2 separate regions of the Homo sapiens genome follow, and region 1 is linked to region 2. The links are contacts of gene promoters, found by promoter capture Hi-C in human tissues and cell types (Jung and others, 2019). All regions are on one chromosome and are shown on one strand. Each heading gives the region's core, a stretch centred on a gene start or on the middle of the fragment in contact. The rest is flanking DNA. Distances are from core to core; before and after follow the strand shown.

The links. The method cuts DNA at HindIII sites, captures the fragments that hold promoters and counts their contacts. A contact is called where the count stands out against the background at its distance.
Region 1: a fragment that was not itself captured here is called in contact with the fragment with the promoter of ZAR1L in region 2 in 1 of the 25 tissues and cell types used here (dorsolateral prefrontal cortex).

Annotation. Positions count from the first base shown.
Region 1 is chr13:33,340,228-33,343,939 of GRCh38, forward strand. The region is part of intron 2 of LOC124903152 (a long non-coding RNA gene); the gene reads left to right. It also overlaps a transcript of STARD13 not described here. Among named protein-coding and RNA genes, the nearest start is that of LINC02344, 6.8 kb to the left of the region's middle. The HindIII fragment of the contact is 7,040 bases long and covers 1-3,712 here.
Region 2 is chr13:32,312,919-32,316,612 of GRCh38, forward strand. It overlaps ZAR1L (zygote arrest 1 like), which reads right to left and starts at 2,445. Exons shown (of 6, transcript NM_001136571.2): 1 at 2,397-2,445; 2 at 1,412-1,632. BRCA2 (BRCA2 DNA repair associated) reads left to right here and starts at 2,590. Exons shown (of 27, transcript NM_000059.4): 1 at 2,590-2,749; 2 at 3,504-3,609. The coding sequence starts at 3,543. RefSeq lists a silencer at 1,641-1,861, a cis regulatory region at 1,980-2,046, a promoter at 2,375-2,871 and an enhancer at 2,980-3,249. The HindIII fragment of the contact is 8,154 bases long and covers 1,743-3,694 here.

The DNA of each region.
Region 1 (3,712 bases), core at 971-3,470, 1.0 Mb after region 2:
GGTTCTCACACTGTCACCCAAGTTGGAGTGCAGTGGTGCAATCATGGCTCACTGCAGCCTCAACTTCCAGGGCTCAAACAATCCTCCCACCTCAGCCTCCCAAGTAGGAGTAGCTAGGACAGGCACGTGACACCATGTTCAGCTAATTTTCTTTATCTTTTGTAGAGACTGTGTCTCCCTGTTTCCCAGTGTGGAAAAACACTTTCAAAGATGCTTCAAGAAATTTGAAATGTTTCCATTTTATCCAGATGCAGAGAGAATAAGAAGCATAAGACCTTCCAGTTTAATATCATTGCAAGCAAATGTATGAATTTTTATGGATTGCATAATTGTCTCTCTTGTTCATTGAATTTCCTATATAGGAAGGAGAAAGGAGCATTCAACAAACACAATATGCCATGATGCACTATAGATAATGAAGCCTCTATTGTACAAAAAACCAGAAACATAAGATTCTGAAAATTTTATTTTGGAGAAAAATGTTACTAAAGAAAGATACTGCCTGAGAGTGTAAGATGTCTTGACACAGCAGATTTGCAAATAAAATATTGTGTAGTCATGCTACATTCTATACTGCTCTTGTGCAATTTCTGGAAGCTTGCTTCATTTCTGGTCAGATAGATGAGTTAAGTGATTTGGGCAGCATAGTAAAATTTATGTGCCTCACCAAGATACAGCCATGGTACTGAATTAATATCCTGCACTACTGTCCCAACATGCTTTGACAAGGATGCTATTTCATGGCTCAATAAATACTTATGGACTAACTACAAACGTGACAAAAATGTTTGTCCTTCAACTCAACTCTTTTAGGACTAAACATTCAAGGACTCTGAAAAAAGCCCAGAAATGTTGTAAGACTTTTAAAACCACTTTTATTTTAATTTTACAAGCTTGCTAAACTTGCAAAAGGACAGAATAGAAATATACTGTTGGATAAACCCCTAGGAAACTTCACAAAGTCTTAAAGCAAAATTTTCTCCATATGTGCTTTGTTCAACATAAGATGTAAAAAGCACAAAAGAGAAGTAGATATTAATTTCATTAGACATGCTCTATGTCTAAATGATCAAGTTGGTGGCTTACAAAAAATCATATTCTGCGGTCCTCTCAAGAAATTTCCGTGAACGGCATGGCGCGGTGCCTCAAGCCTGTAATCCCAGCACTTTGAGAGGCCGAGGTGGGCGGATCACAAGGTCAGGATATCAAGACCAACCTCGCTAACATGGTGAAATCCTGTCTCTACTAAAAATACAAAAAAATTAGCCGGGTGTGGTGGCTTCAACTCGGGAGGTGGAGGTTGCAGTGAGTCAAGATCGTGCCACTGCACTCCAGCCTGGGCGACAGAGCGAGACTCCGTCTCCAAAAAAAAAAAAAAAGAAGAAGAAAAAAAGAAATTTCAGCGAACCAGCTGGGCTTGTGCCTCTTATTCAGAGCAGCCACCAGCAATTAATGAATATGGTCTTTCTTTTTTCCAATTCAAGGAGGACGCTGTATTGCCCCCCAGGGTGGGCCAGCATATTGCAGATAGGTTAGGCCAAGGTTAAGTTACACCCTTTACAAATGCAAACTTTTTTTTTTTTTGAGATGGAAGCTCTGTGGCCCAGGCTGGAGTGCACTGGTACAATCTCAGCTCACTGCAACCTCCTCCTCTTGGGTTCAAGTGATTCCCCTGCCTCAGCCTCTGGAGTAGCTGGAATTACAGGCATATCCCCACCATACCCGGCTAATTTTTGTATTTTTAGTAGATACGAGGTTTCACCATGTTGGCCAGGCTGGTCTTAAACTCTTGACCTCAAGGGATCTGCCCGCCACGGACAGCTTCCCTAAGTGCTGGGATTACAGGCATAAGCCACTCTGCCAGGCCACAAATACAAACATTTAAGACATTGGTTATCTATTTATATGCTCTGAAAAATTTTACCTTAACCAGTGGTGTCAGAGGCAAAGCATAACCCTTAAAGGTCAGTAAATGGATGCTATATTGGAAAAATCAATATGCACAGCCTTTCCTAAGAGCTAAGCTTTGTTTGATCAGACTATTCCTGGGTATCAGGACACTGGCCAAGTCCTGCCAAAAGTAAAGCTCTTATCCCATTATACGTAGGCCCAACCAGTTATAGTAACCAGAGGAGTGCTCATGCTAAAAACATTTTTTATTTAATAAACTGTGTTTTTCTTTTTTGTGCATATGCAGGCAACTTGAGAAGTATTTTCCTTAAAAAAAGTTTGTTTGCTTTTTTACTTTGCAATATAATTTTTAAATTAAAAAGGCATTTGATCAGTGAGGGTTTTTTTATAGTTTGTTTTTTTTTTTTTAAGACATGGGGTCTCACTGTGCCACCCAGGCTGAAGGGCAGTCGCATGATCATAGCTTACTGAATCTTTGAATTCCTGGGCAAGAGCTATCTTCCCGCCTCAGCCTCCTGAGTAGCTGGGAGCACAGAGGCACGAGCCACCATGCCCATCAATGATTATTTTTGTCCATCAACAGTTCTAGGACCAAATTTGTAACTCTATCACAAAAGATTATGTAATATAGCAGTACTATTGTGATAGAAGAATGTTGAATTTAGAAATAATGTTGCTCTCTTTCTATTTTCCTGAAAATTTAGTACGTGCGTATGTACTAATAGTACTTGCATATGGACATATTTATGTCCAAATATTGCACTCTAACCAAAGAGCCCCCCAGGACTTGGCCCTTGGCCCCTTCCCCTTATCTGCAATCTCTTCTAAGTAGCTCCACCCAGTTCCCAAGTTTTATAAAGTAGTCATATGCCAATAATTCCCACATTATATCTCTGGCTCTGACTTTCCTACAAAGCCGATACTTATGCATCCAATTCCTTGACTTTTACTTTTGGATGTCTAGTAGGCATTCCAAAGCTAATGGAGCCAACAGAGAACCTTTGAGTCCTTTTTCTCTCCCATGCAAATCTGCCAGTTATCCTCATCTTGGCCAACATTGCTACACTCCACTTAGCTGCTCAGATCAAAACCCTAAAACTTAAAGTATAATAATAGTAAAATTAAAAAAAATTATTAATTAAAAAAAAAAATCTGGCTGGGCTCGGTGGCTCATGCCTATCATCCCAGCACCTTGGGAGGTGGAGGTGGGAACATTGTTTGAGCCCAGGAGTTTGAGACCAGACTGGTCTGGGCAACATGAAGAAACCCCATCTCTACAAAAATGCAAAAATTAGCCAGGAGTGGTGACGCAAGCCTGTAGTCCCAGCTACTCGGAAGGCTGATGTGGGAGGACGCTTGAGTCTTCAAGGTTGAGGCTGCACTGAGCCATGATTCCATCACCGTACTCCAGACTGGGCAACAGATTGAGACCCTGTCTTAAAAAAAAAAAAAAAAAAAACAAATCTACAAATCTAGTAGTCCCTCTCCCTAGCTTCCAACAACCAACCTGTTATTGTCTCTATTTCAAGACACACTCCAAATCTGTTCCTTTCTCTCCATTTCTATCACTATCACCCTAGTCCATGTCACTGTTTATCTCTCACCTAGACCATCACTGGTAGTAATTTATTCAGGTCTTGTCACTCCTCTGCTTGAAGCCCTTTGTTCTTATCTCCTGTAGAACCAAATCAAAACTTCTTTTCCTGCCAACAAAGCCTAACTTTATCTTATAACCTGACCCTCTGTCTACACTTCTGACATCCACTCTTACCACCTATTTCATTATTCTCCAGGCACGACT
Region 2 (3,694 bases), core at 1,195-3,694:
TTTGCAACAACATGGGTGAAACTGGGGAACATTATGCTAAGTGAAATAAGCCAGATAGAAAAATACTGCATAAACTCACTGATATGTGGAATCTGAAAAAGTCAAATACATAGAAGCAGAAAGTAGAATGGTGGTTACCAGGGACAGGAAGTTGGGGGGAATGGAGAGAGACTGGTCAGAGCCTAAAATGTTACAGTTAGGTAGAATGAATGAGTCTAGAGATCTAATTTACAGCATAACGACTACAGTTAACAATACTGTATTTTATACTGAAAAGTTTCAAAGAGAAATTTCAGGTGCTCTCACCGCACACAAAAGAAAGGTAATTATGTGAACAGATGGATATGTTAATTGCTTGACTATAGTAATCATCTCACTGTGTACATATACATGTTGTGCACATTAAATATATACAACTTTTAGGAAATAATGGTTTTTTGGGTTTTTGTTTGTTTGCTTGTTTGAAATGGAGTTTCCTTGCTCTGTCTCCCAGGCAGGAGTGCAGTGGCATGATTTCGGCTCACTGCAACTTCCGCCTCTGGGGTTCAAGTGATTCTCCCACCTCAGCCTCCCAAGTAGCTGGGATTACAGGCACATGCCACCACACCCAGTTAATTTTTGTATTTTTAGTAGAGACAGGGTTTTGCCATGTTGGCCAGGCTGGTCTCGAACTCCTGACCTCAGGTGATCTGCCCACCTTGGCCTCCCAAAGTGCTGTGATTACAGGCGTGAGCCACCATGCCCAGCTGGAAATAATGTTTTTAAGAAAAATTAAAGCATATTGTAAATTGAATACAAATAGTAAATTGAGCAGCTGCACTAGAAGAGAATAGGTGAGAAAGTCTATTATGGTGGAGCTAATAAGTTGCAAGTCCCTGGTACAAAGAGAACAAGAAACATAAAGGTATGGGGGGCTGTATAAAATGACAGAAAATGTTATTTCTGAGACTTGTGTGACATGCCACGGGTTCTCATTAGTCCACTCCTAGTGAGACACCCCTCCCCCACAAAAAGGGGACAAAGCATATTGTTCTGATTTATAGGGTAAATAAATCACAGGTTAGTTAAGTGTATGAAGTCAAATGGACTAGAATTCAAACCTGGGCCTTACTACCAGGCACATTACTTAACTACTTGATTCAGTATCCTCATCTGACAATACTGACCAATTTACAGGATTACTGTAAGATTAAACATGGTATTGCTTGAAAACCCAAAGCAGAATGCCTAACTCATAAAATGTTTGGTAAGTGGCAGCTGTTATTAGTAAGGATCACAGACGTATTTCTTTGCGAATTAGACTTAGAGCAAAAGCTTTAGAATCTATCTGCATTAGTAAGGCCTCCTTCTACAACTAAGGATTACTGATTATCAAACTAAAATGGTCCCTAAGGAACCAAGCGGAGCCCACCCTTTTCCTAATCCAAGGTTGCTTCTGTTTACTGCTCAAGCACCTTCTGGAAGCAGCAAGGCCCCCATGGGAGCAACTCTCACTGAATCCATTTGAAGGTTTTGTAGGTCTTACAACAAACCCTATTCAGCCTTGTATTAGGCATGTTACAGAACCAACGAATTCGGAGATGAAGTCAGGTCTTCCAGTTCAGCCTGCGAGGAAGACAGGTGATCCGAATCCTAAGAATGCAAAAGATGGGCCGGGTGTGGTGGCTCATGCCTGTAATCCCAGCGCTTTGGGAGGCCGAGGCAGGCAGATCACCTGAGGTCGGGAGGTTGAGACCAGACTGACCAACAACGGAGAAACCCCGTCTCTACTTAAAAATGCAAAGTTAGCCGTGCGTGGTGGCCCATGCCTGTATTCCCAGCTACTCGGGAGGCTGAGGCAGGAGAACCACTTGATCCCTGGAGGCGGAAGTTGCGGTGAGCGGAGATTGCGCCATTGCACACCAGCCCGGGCCACAAGAGCGAAACTCCGTCTCAAAAAAAAAAGCAAAAGATACTACCAAGCCCTGCGGAGCAAGGTACCTCACACTTCATGAGCGAGTTAAGATGGGTTTCACAATTTTTCAAGCAAGGAAACGGGCTCGGAGGTCTTGAACACCTGCTACCCAATAGCAGAACAGCTACTGGAACTAAAATCCTCTGATTTCAAATAACAGCCCCGCCCACTACCACTAAGTGAAGTCATCCACAACCACACACCGACCACTCTAAGCTTTTGTAAGATCGGCTCGCTTTGGGGAACAGGTCTTGAGAGAACATCCCTTTTAAGGTCAGAACAAAGGTATTTCATAGGTCCCAGGTCGTGTCCCGAGGGCGCCCACCCAAACATGAGCTGGAGCAAAAAGAAAGGGATGGGGGACTTGGAGTAGGCATAGGGGCGGCCCCTCCAAGCAGGGTGGCCTGGGACTCTTAAGGGTCAGCGAGAAGAGAACACACACTCCAGCTCCCGCTTTATTCGGTCAGATACTGACGGTTGGGATGCCTGACAAGGAATTTCCTTTCGCCACACTGAGAAATACCCGCAGCGGCCCACCCAGGCCTGACTTCCGGGTGGTGCGTGTGCTGCGTGTCGCGTCACGGCGTCACGTGGCCAGCGCGGGCTTGTGGCGCGAGCTTCTGAAACTAGGCGGCAGAGGCGGAGCCGCTGTGGCACTGCTGCGCCTCTGCTGCGCCTCGGGTGTCTTTTGCGGCGGTGGGTCGCCGCCGGGAGAAGCGTGAGGGGACAGATTTGTGACCGGCGCGGTTTTTGTCAGCTTACTCCGGCCAAAAAAGAACTGCACCTCTGGAGCGGGTTAGTGGTGGTGGTAGTGGGTTGGGACGAGCGCGTCTTCCGCAGTCCCAGTCCAGCGTGGCGGGGGAGCGCCTCACGCCCCGGGTCGCTGCCGCGGCTTCTTGCCCTTTTGTCTCTGCCAACCCCCACCCATGCCTGAGAGAAAGGTCCTTGCCCGAAGGCAGATTTTCGCCAAGCAAATTCGAGCCCCGCCCCTTCCCTGGGTCTCCATTTCCCGCCTCCGGCCCGGCCTTTGGGCTCCGCCTTCAGCTCAAGACTTAACTTCCCTCCCAGCTGTCCCAGATGACGCCATCTGAAATTTCTTGGAAACACGATCACTTTAACGGAATATTGCTGTTTTGGGGAAGTGTTTTACAGCTGCTGGGCACGCTGTATTTGCCTTACTTAAGCCCCTGGTAATTGCTGTATTCCGAAGACATGCTGATGGGAATTACCAGGCGGCGTTGGTCTCTAACTGGAGCCCTCTGTCCCCACTAGCCACGCGTCACTGGTTAGCGTGATTGAAACTAAATCGTATGAAAATCCTCTTCTCTAGTCGCACTAGCCACGTTTCGAGTGCTTAATGTGGCTAGTGGCACCGGTTTGGACAGCACAGCTGTAAAATGTTCCCATCCTCACAGTAAGCTGTTACCGTTCCAGGAGATGGGACTGAATTAGAATTCAAACAAATTTTCCAGCGCTTCTGAGTTTTACCTCAGTCACATAATAAGGAATGCATCCCTGTGTAAGTGCATTTTGGTCTTCTGTTTTGCAGACTTATTTACCAAGCATTGGAGGAATATCGTAGGTAAAAATGCCTATTGGATCCAAAGAGAGGCCAACATTTTTTGAAATTTTTAAGACACGCTGCAACAAAGCAGGTATTGACAAATTTTATATAACTTTATAAATTACACCGAGAAAGTGTTTTCTAAAAAATGCTTGCTAAAAACCCAGTACGTCACA